Linked DNA regions of Homo sapiens: region 2 is linked to region 1. Evidence: promoter capture Hi-C in 16 types of primary human blood cells and fetal thymus (Javierre and others, 2016). All regions are on one chromosome and are shown on one strand. The core of a region is centred on a gene start or on the middle of the fragment in contact, and the rest is flanking DNA. Distances in the headings are between cores, read along the strand shown.

What was found. The method cuts DNA at HindIII sites, captures the fragments that hold promoters and counts their contacts. A CHiCAGO score of 5 or more calls a contact.
Region 2: a contact is called between a fragment that was not itself captured here and the fragment with the promoter of TTLL11 in region 1, in 1 of 17 cell types (endothelial precursors). The highest score is 7.2, in endothelial precursors.

The regions. Positions count from the first base shown.
Region 1 is chr9:122,091,196-122,095,684 of GRCh38, forward strand. TTLL11 (tubulin tyrosine ligase like 11) reads right to left here and starts at 2,113. Exons shown (of 9, transcript NM_001139442.2): 1 at 1,492-2,113. The coding sequence starts at 1,953. LOC124902263 (a long non-coding RNA gene) reads left to right here and starts at 2,937. Exons shown (of 2, transcript XR_007061757.1): 1 at 2,937-2,977; 2 at 3,979-4,205. It overlaps LOC124902262 (a long non-coding RNA gene), which reads left to right. Exons shown (of 3, transcript XR_007061755.1): 3 at 1-84. RefSeq lists enhancers at 1,641-2,354, 2,104-2,293 and a silencer at 1,704-1,753. The HindIII fragment of the contact is 9,416 bases long and covers 1-4,489 here.
Region 2 is chr9:121,547,526-121,552,244 of GRCh38, forward strand. The region is part of intron 1 of LOC107987016 (a long non-coding RNA gene); the gene reads right to left. Among named protein-coding and RNA genes, the nearest start is that of GGTA1, 50 kb to the left of the region's middle. The HindIII fragment of the contact is 6,533 bases long and covers 1-4,719 here.

The DNA of each region.
Region 1 (4,489 bases), core at 863-3,362:
GCCCCACTTGGGCCAATCTGCCTAGCCTGACTCCATAGCCTGGTTTTATTTGCTGGATTCTCCCTTCATTAAGACCACGGCACTGACAAGTTGTCCAGTTGTACCTTTTCTAGCCCTCATATCTCTGGCCTGGACCTGGGGCCCTGCCTAGAAACCCAGATACTTTAGAACTGAGAGCCTGCCTTTGTTTTCCCCAAGTTTCCCCAGCATGAAAGTTCCCCTCTGAATCCCAAGCCCCAAGGCTGGGGGCCCAGACACTTGGAGTCAAACTTCCCCAACGGCTACACCCTATCCACCTGGAAGTCGGTTCTGCCTGATCCTTGACTTCCCTCCAAACCAAATGCACTTTTTCCTATTGGGACATCAACCCTCTGACCACATCAGTCCTTTCTGTGGCCATCTCTCTGTATGTTCCAACTTAATGAAACCATTACCGAGCATCTACCATAGCCAAGGCACAGGGCTAAGAACCTGAGTCCTCTGTTACCCGCAGCAGATCCCTGTTACCACTGGCTGTGTCCACACTCAGCTATCCTTAATCAAACTCCTGACACTCCTGAAAGCACATTAAATACCTTATATGCTGCAAATAAAGTCAAATGGCTTTATCCACGTAGCCAATTGCAACAGACACCTCTAGAGTCACTGGTGCTACATTCCATCCCCTGCCAGTCTAAAATGGGCTCAGGGATGATAACTCATGTATTCATTCACCCTTTCATTCACTGCTTACTGACACATGCCGTAAGCCAAGCCTGGAATATAAAATACAGTGCCTGATTTTATACCACTGATCATGAGGACAGTGGTGGTGCTGGTGGTGGTGATGGTGATGATGGTGGAAGAAGAGAGAAAGGAGAAGGTGGTAACGTAAGTTACCATTTATTGCAGACTTGTGCTATAAAACACTAAGTAGTGAGTCTTCTAATGCTAACAAGATGATGAGATAAGTATAATTGGCCTCACTTTACAGAGAAGGTAATAGGCTGAAGAGGTGAAGCAACTTACTCAAGGTCACACAGCTAAGTAGCAAAGTGTAGTGAGACCCTAGGCCTGTCTGCCTCCAAAATAAAAAGTGTTCCTCTGCCCAAGAGTCACACAGCAAGTGCTAAACAAATATAACTTCAATGAAGAAGTGAGAGAGCGGGTCCGGGGCCCCAGGGGCTTACAAGCTGGTGGAGGAGACAGACGTACACATATCTACAAGCAGAGGCAAATGCTGATGGCTGAGACATAAAAAGAGCTGCAGGGAGGCAGAGGAGTGAGTGGCTAACTTGACCTGGAGGGGTCTGGGGGGCCCTCTTGGAGGAAGTGATTTTGGGGGGTAGGCCTTGAAGGATGAGCACTTTGCGGCTGACAAGCAGGCCCGAGCGTGGTGCACCGCAGGAGCTCAGCCCTCGCCCGCCGACCTGACCTGGGCCGTGCCGAGACCTCTGAGGTCGTCCTGTCCACCCCACTGTGCCCACGCGGCCGGGTCGGGCCGGGCCTCACCTCCTTCCACTTGAGCTGGCGGATGCTGATCTTCAGGGCATCCAGGGAGGTCCTGGCCTTGGAGCTGTCCACGGTGACCGGCCGCTGGGAGCCGTTCTCGCCGGAACCGTGGCCCGAGCTCCGCTTGCAGCTTCGGCCCTTGTCCCGGGGCTTCCCGTGCGGGCAGAGGCCCTGCACCGGCTTCGGCTTGGACGGGGGCAGCGTGGGCGGCGGCCGCTGAAGGACCTGGGTGTTCCCCTCCTCAGCCGCACTGGGCTGCGCCGGGGCCGGGGCCAGGACCTTGGGCTGCTCCTCCCCTGCCTTGCACTCCGGTTCCCCGGCCGCGCCCGCGTCCACGCGGACCTGTTCCGCCACCGTCTCCGCTGTGGCCTCGGCCTCAGCTTTGGCCGCCGCTTTGGCCGCAGCCACCGCCTCCGCCTCCCACCGGGCCGCCAGCTCGCTCTCGGAGCTGCCCCGCCGCATGGTGCTCAGGGCCGGGGCCAGTGCCAGTGCCACCGCCGCCGCCGCCGCCGCTCCGCCGCCCCAGTCCGCCACCAAACTGCCGCCGCTGCAGCCGCTGCCACGCGTTCCCCGCCCGAGCCCGTTGCCATGATCGCTCAGGCTCGGGTTGACAGCGGCAGTCACCGCATCGAGACGGGGTCCGGGAAGGGACAATCGCCGGCCGAGCCCCAGCGACCTCATAGGCGAGGCTGCCCACGTGACCCTGCCTGTCACAGAGGCAGCGGCGGCCATGTTGGAAGAGGGCAAAGAGCCGCCAGGACCCGCCCACCCCGCGGATGCGCTGGATCTCGAGGGCGCAGAACTCGGAGTGGCGAGGAGAAGCGGGAGGGCAGATTGAGCGCGCGTGGGGCTCGTGAGCCTGGGGACTGGGAGTAAAAACAACTACCTCAAGCAGGAGGCTCAGTCCCCGCCAACACTCGCTGGGATAACTCTCGATAGGACGGAGGAGGAGCCCCCCAGTGGGACCCTCCTCAGTGCAATGGATGGGACCCTCCTCAGTGCAATGGATGGGACCCTCCTCAGTGCGATGGATGTGAGCAGCCCAGGCCCTAGGGGAGCAGAGAGTGTTCCGCTGAAGAAACCCTCTGCTGGTCCTTTGAGCGCCCCCAGATAAGAGGGGAGGCACTTTTCCCTGTTCTCAGGGAGCTCCCGATGGGATGGGGAAGTCATGGGCATGGGTAAGCCCCCTATAGATTCCCACTCGAGTTGAGGATATTAACGATTTTTTCTTTTTCTTTTCTTTTTTTCTTTTTTTTTTTTTTTTTTAGACAGGGTCTCTCTCTGTCGCCCAGGCTGGAGTGCAGTGGCGCGATCCCGGCTCACTGCAGCAGCCTCAACTTCCAGAGCTCAAGGGATCCTCCCACCCCAACCTCCCGAGTAGCTGAGACTACACGAATGTACCACCACTCCCGGCTAAGTTTTGTGTTTCTCGTAGAAACGTGGTTTCGCCATGTTGCCGAGGCTGTTCTCAAACTCCTGACCTCAGGTAATCTGCCAGCCTCGGCCTCCCAAAGTACTAGGATTACAAGCAGAACCACCGCGTCTCTTGTTTTCTTTTTTGTTTTTGTTTTTGTTTTGTTGTTGTTGTTGATGTTGTTACAGAGTTTCGCTCTTGTCGCCCAGGCTGGGATGCAATGGTGTGATCTCGGCTCATTGCAGCCTCCGCCTCCCGGCTTCAAGCAATTCTCCTGCCTCAGCCTTGTGAGTAGCTGGGATTGCAGGAGCCGGCCACCATGCCCGGCTAATTTTTTGTATTTTTAGTATAGACGGGGTTTCACCATCTTGGCCAGGCTGGTCTCTAACTCCCGACCTCAGATGATCCACCCGCCTCAGCCTCCCAAAGTGCTGAGATTACAAGCGTGAGCCACCACGTCCAGCCTGACTGCTTTTACTTATATCACTTTTTTTGTTGTGGTAAAATATAACAAAATTTGCCATTTTAACCATTTTTAGTGTACAATTCAGTGGCATTCTGTATACTCACATTGTTGTGCAACCAGCACCACTATGGGTCTCCGGAACTCTTTTATCTTACCAAACTGAAACTTTGTGTCTATGAAACAATAAGTCGGGATTCCCTTCTCTCCTAGTCCCTGGGAACCACCATTTCTACTTTCTGACTATGAATTTGACTATTCCTGGTTCCTCATGTCAGTGGAATCATACAGTATTTGTCTGGCTTATTTCACGTAGCATAATGTCCTCAAGGTTTCTCCATGTTGTAGCATGAGTCCAAATTTCACTCATTTTTAAGACTGAAAAATATTTCGTCGTGTGCATACACCACCTCGTTTTTATCCATTCATCTGTCAATGGACTTAGGTTGTTTCCACCTTTTGGCTATTGTGAAGAATGTCGGTTAACATTGGTATACAAATACCTGTTTGAGCCCCTGCTTTCCATTTTTGGGAGTTGCCATCATTTTAAAGCCAAACCAAGGAGAAAGCTCTCCCCTCCCACCTGAGGGAGCCGCATTTGTTTTTTTAGGAAGTGGGGTTGAGAAGGTGTAACAGCACCCCAGACTGACCACAGCGGCCACGACTGCACACAGGGGAACTTTGCCTCGCTCGACACTACAGGGTGAAAGAAACACAGAAGTTGTCAAGGAACGTGGCCCCTCTTCCTCTCTCATCTCTCCAGGTGTCTTGTTTCTTTGCTTTAGTCCAGGGGTTTCACTTGCTGAATAAACTGCCTTGAAATGTCCAAGTCATAAACTTAAGAGATCCAAACCTCCTTTTTAGCAGCAGAGGGCGCTCGCATCTGTTCCCTTCATGACTTTGTTTCAGAGTTTCTGTAAGCATGGTCGTCTGGCCACTTGCATGGGAACAACCCGGGGTGTTTATTTAAAATGCAGGCTCCTGGACCCCACCCCCAGAGACTGTGATGCAGCACATCTGGGTGGACCTGGGAATCTGCATGTTAAATTAGCTCCTCCGCTGATTCTAAGGCAGCGGAGGCAAGAACCACTCATAGAGTCTGATGCAAGTCCTCTGGAAAT
Region 2 (4,719 bases), core at 1,280-3,779, 540 kb before region 1:
GAAAGGGTTTTCCAGCAGAGGAACGGGCATATACGAGGCCCTGAGCAGAGAAAGCCAGGCCATGGGGGTAAAGTGGTTATGCAGTGAGAGGGGCTGCACACAGACACACAAGAACACATAAACCCCTCACATAAAGCAAACACGCAAACACACCAGCACATACATACACCCCCTCAGAGGTGCAGATGTGGGTAGGAAGCTGCACCCTGAAAGAGAAGAGAGTTCTTATTCGGGAACTTCAGTGAGCTCCGACTGGAGTGGGTTGTTGTAGGACGGTTTCCTTAGCAATCCCCTGCTTTCCTCCCCAAATACTCTCCAAGGACCGCTTCCAGGGCTCTTTCAGCTCCACCGCTGAGGCTCCCCTGGCTGCCAAACTCCAGAGTCTACCCCTGCCCCATCTCCCTTCTCCACTCCCATCCTCAACTCCGGGCCCCCAGCTCTGAAGAACTGACCCCAGGGAGTGTCCTGTCACATACGGGCCCACTCTCATCCCCACCCCTCTCTGCCCCTGTCGCTACCTGCTTTTCCCTACCCCTGGCCCCATGCTGTCCCTCCAGCAACTTTGAGAGGCAGATCTGATTTGCGCCTTTGTTTTTGTTTTTGTTTTTGTTTGAGATAGGGTCTTGCTCTGTCACCCAAGCTGGAGTGCAGTGGCGTGATCTAGGCTCACTGCAACCTCCGCCTCCCAGATTCAAGCAATTCTGCCTCAGCCTCCCAAGTAGCTGGGACTACAGGCTTGTGCCACCACGCCCGGCTAATTTTTGTATTTTTAGTAGAGACAGGGTTTCGCCATGTTGGCCACGCTGGTCTTGAACTCATGACCTCAGGTGATCCACCTGCCTCGGCCTCCCAAATTGCTGAAATTACAAGTGTAAGCCACTGTGCCTGGTCTAGGCCACTGGTCTTACTGTTTGTTTTCTATTTGTCCCACTTACACGGTTATTTTTCTCTCTTTTCTTGCCTTCTCTTGCCAGCCTACACCAACGTACCCAGCAAAAAATACTCTTCAAAAACAAAGGTGGCCTCTTCTAGAAGATCTGATTTTATAAAAAGAAAAAGAAAATTTTTTTTTAAATTCAAGTGAAACTGAGACATTTCATACAAATAAAAATGGAAAGAATTTATCACCAGCACGTCCCCATCAAAGAATTAGCAAAGGGTGATTTTCAGGCAGGAGAAAATGGATCCCAGATGGAAACTTGGAGATTTGGGAGGAAATGAAGGCCAATGGAGAGAGAAAATATTTGGTTAATCTAAACAAATATTGTCTGTATAAAACAATAATAATTAGGTCTTGTGGAGTTTGAAATATATAAAGGATTCAAATAGCAGATGGTAACAGATGACAATAGCATCCAAGTCAGGAGGGGGTAAATGGAGTTTTAAGTGGTCTAAACTTCCTGCATTTCCCTACGAGCAGTGAGAGTTTGTCTGTAGCAGACTTTAATAAGTCAAGGATACGCATTATAATCTTTAGGATAACCACTAAAAGAAAGGAGTACTAACAAATTAATAAAGCAATGCCATGGATTAATTAAAAGTACTGTATCAGTCTGGGCTTGGTGGCTCACGCCTGTAATCCCTGCACTTTGGGAGGCCGAGGTGGGCGGATCACTTGAGGTCAGAAGTTCAAGACCAGCCTGGCCAACATAGTGAAATTCCGTCTCTACTGAAAACACAAAAACTAGCTAGGCGTGATGATGGGTGCCTGTAATCCCAGCTACTCAGGAGGCTGAGGCACGAGAATCGCTTGAACCTGGGAGACGGAGGTTGCAGTGAGCGAGATCGCACCACTGCACTGTAGCCTGGGTGATAGAGCAAGACTTTGTCCAAAAAAAAAAAAAAAAAACCCACCAAAACAAACAAAAAAACCCATATAATCCATAATAAGGTGAGAAAGGAGGGAAAAATATATTTTTAAAAGAAACTTCAGGGTAATTAAAATGTTCTTAAATTGGACGGTGGGCACACAGTGTCCCACTTCAACCTGATTCATATACTGCACGTATATTAAATAAATTTTTTTTTTCCAGATGGAGTCTTGCTGTGTTGCCAGGCTGGAATGCAGTGGGGCGATCTCAGCTCACTCACTGCAACCTCCGACTCCCTGATTCAAGCAATTCTCCTGCCTCAGCCTCCCGAGTAGCTGGGATGATGGGCACATGACACCATGCCCAGCTAATTTTTGTATTTTTAGTAGAGATGGGGTTTCACCATGTTGGCCAGGATGGTCTCGATCTCCTGACCTCATGATCCGCCCACCTCGGCCTCCCAAAGTGCTGGGATTACAGGTGTGAGCCACCAAGCCCAATCTAAATAAATATTCTTTTCTCCGAACTCCACAGTTGATAAAAATGTTTAAAAAGCAAAGCAAGTGGCAGAACATTAGGCATATGCAATATGACCTCATTTGTGTGTGTGTGAATATATATATATATATATATATACATATACATATATTCTTTCTGTTGAAGAAAATCTGGGCTGGGCATGGTGGCTCATGCTTGTAATCCCAGCACTTTGGGAGGCTGAGGCAGGAGGACTGCTTGACCTCAGGAGTTTGAGACCAGCCTGGGCAACAGAGTGGGACCCTGTCTCTACAAAAATAATAATGAAAAAACTACCTACATATGGTGGTGCGTGCCTGTAGTACCAGTTACTTGAGAGACTGAGGTGGGCGGATCGGTTGACCCAGGCAAGTGGAGGCTGCAGTGAGCCATGACCGCTCCGCTGCACTCCAGCCTGGGCGACAGAGCTAGACCCTGACTTAAAAAAAAAAGAAGCCAGAAAAATAATCTGAAGCCTGTTTGCCAAAATGCAATCAGAGGTTGTGGTGGGATGGAATTCTGCAGGGAAGCTGCCCATGCCTGCCTTTTTCTATAGTCCATGGAGTTTGCATGTTGTTTTCAGGAAGTATATTATTACTTAATAATTACAAGTCACAAACAGGCCGCAAATATGTTTCCGTTTTGAAAAAATTAATTTGAAACTATGTGATGAGAATAGGATCGATGGCTGCCGTGGGGTCCCCAACGCCTGCCGATCCCGCGGTGTCCTCCGCTCTCCCCAGCACCAGCACCTCCAGCTGAGCGCCCCGACCACCTGCCGTCGTGACCACCTCGCCCACACGGTGGCGCTGCGGGGACAGCCCAGCCTCTCCAGGCTCCGAGGGCAGGGGACTGTTGTGGCAGGGAGGGGGCGGCGTGTCTTCGGGACCTGATTGATTTCTTTGGCCTCCCGCCGACAGCCTTACCAGGTGGCATCCGGAGCGCACGCTGGCAGCCAGTCAGTCGCCTCCGTGGGTAGCTCCGGAGCATTCACGCGGTGGTGCCGCCCAGCCCACCTCCCCCCACCGGAGTCAAATGGGCTCGTGTCTCCTGGCGACAAGACTGGATTCCCAGAGCAGGCCTGGAGGGCTCTCACGGCACTTGTTAGGACAGGCTTGGGGCCTGCCTCCAGAGGACCTTAGGTTCGGGTCCTTGGGGGAGTGCAAGCCGTGTTGACCCACCTCACGCGTCAAGGGAACTACAGAGGAGGGAGAGGGGGGTCTTGCCTGGGCCCCTCTGGGCTGAGGTTGAGTGTTTCTGATCTGTCTCTGAATTCTCCCACATGCAAATCTGAGCAAGCCACTCCCTGCTTAAGACACGCAATGGCTCCCTATCGCCCTCAGGAGAAGGTCCAAGTCCCTAAGCCTGACTCCTGAGGTTCCTTACCACCGCCAACACCCAATGCTCCATCTCACTTAATCCCTTCATTCCCTTAAACCTGTCAGGCACTTTCTTACCTCTGAGGTTCCCACATGCCATTCCCATTCACTCAAACACCTTTTCACTCCTTTTTCTTCTTGGCTAACTCTGACTCATCCTTCAGACCTATAGTTTAAATGTTGCCTCCTCCCGGAAGCACCCCCCTGCCGCCCAGCCCCCAAAGGTCCCCCAGGCTTCCCTTTCTCAACATCACATGGAGTCTCGCTGTGTCACCTAAGCTGGAGTGCAGTGGTACGATCTCTGCTCACTGCAACCTCTGCCTCCCAGGTTCAAGCGATTCTCCTGCCTCAGCCTCCCAAGTAGCTGGGATTACAGGTGCACACCGGTTAATTTTTGTATTTTTAGTAGAGACGAGGTTTTGCCATGTTGGCCAGGCTGGTCTCGAACTCCTGACCTCAACTGATCCTCCTGCCTTGGCCTCCCAAAGTGTTGGGATTACAGGCGTGAGCCACCACGCCCAGGCTTCACACTTGATTCTAATGATGGGTTTATTGCCTGCCTCTTTCATTGGACGGTGGCCTCAGGAGGGCAGGGGTCTGTCTTCCTGGGTCATTACTGCTCTCTCAGGGCCAGGACCATGCAGCACTCAGCAGGTGCTCCATACATTGCTGTGCCATGAGCGAATGTTCGTGACCATACCTCTCCTGGTGGTGGGTGCTTGAGGGGTGTGCAAAGACACTCGGTGGCCTCTGGGTAGGTGGAGGTGGCAGGGACGAGGCACAGTTACCACAGCCTGTCTAAGGAACCACTGGGCTTCCCTTGGACTCCTGCTGTCTGGAGAGACAAACCACAATGACTGGTGGTTGCCAGGCCCCTCCCCAGCACCCAGAGGGTGGCTGGACACAGGCTGACCTCAAGCGGCACCAGAAAGAGATGAGTGTGTGTGTCCCTTCACCCAGCCCTGTCTGGCCTCCTCCCTGTGCACGCGGTCGCCTCCCAGACTCGATGCCCA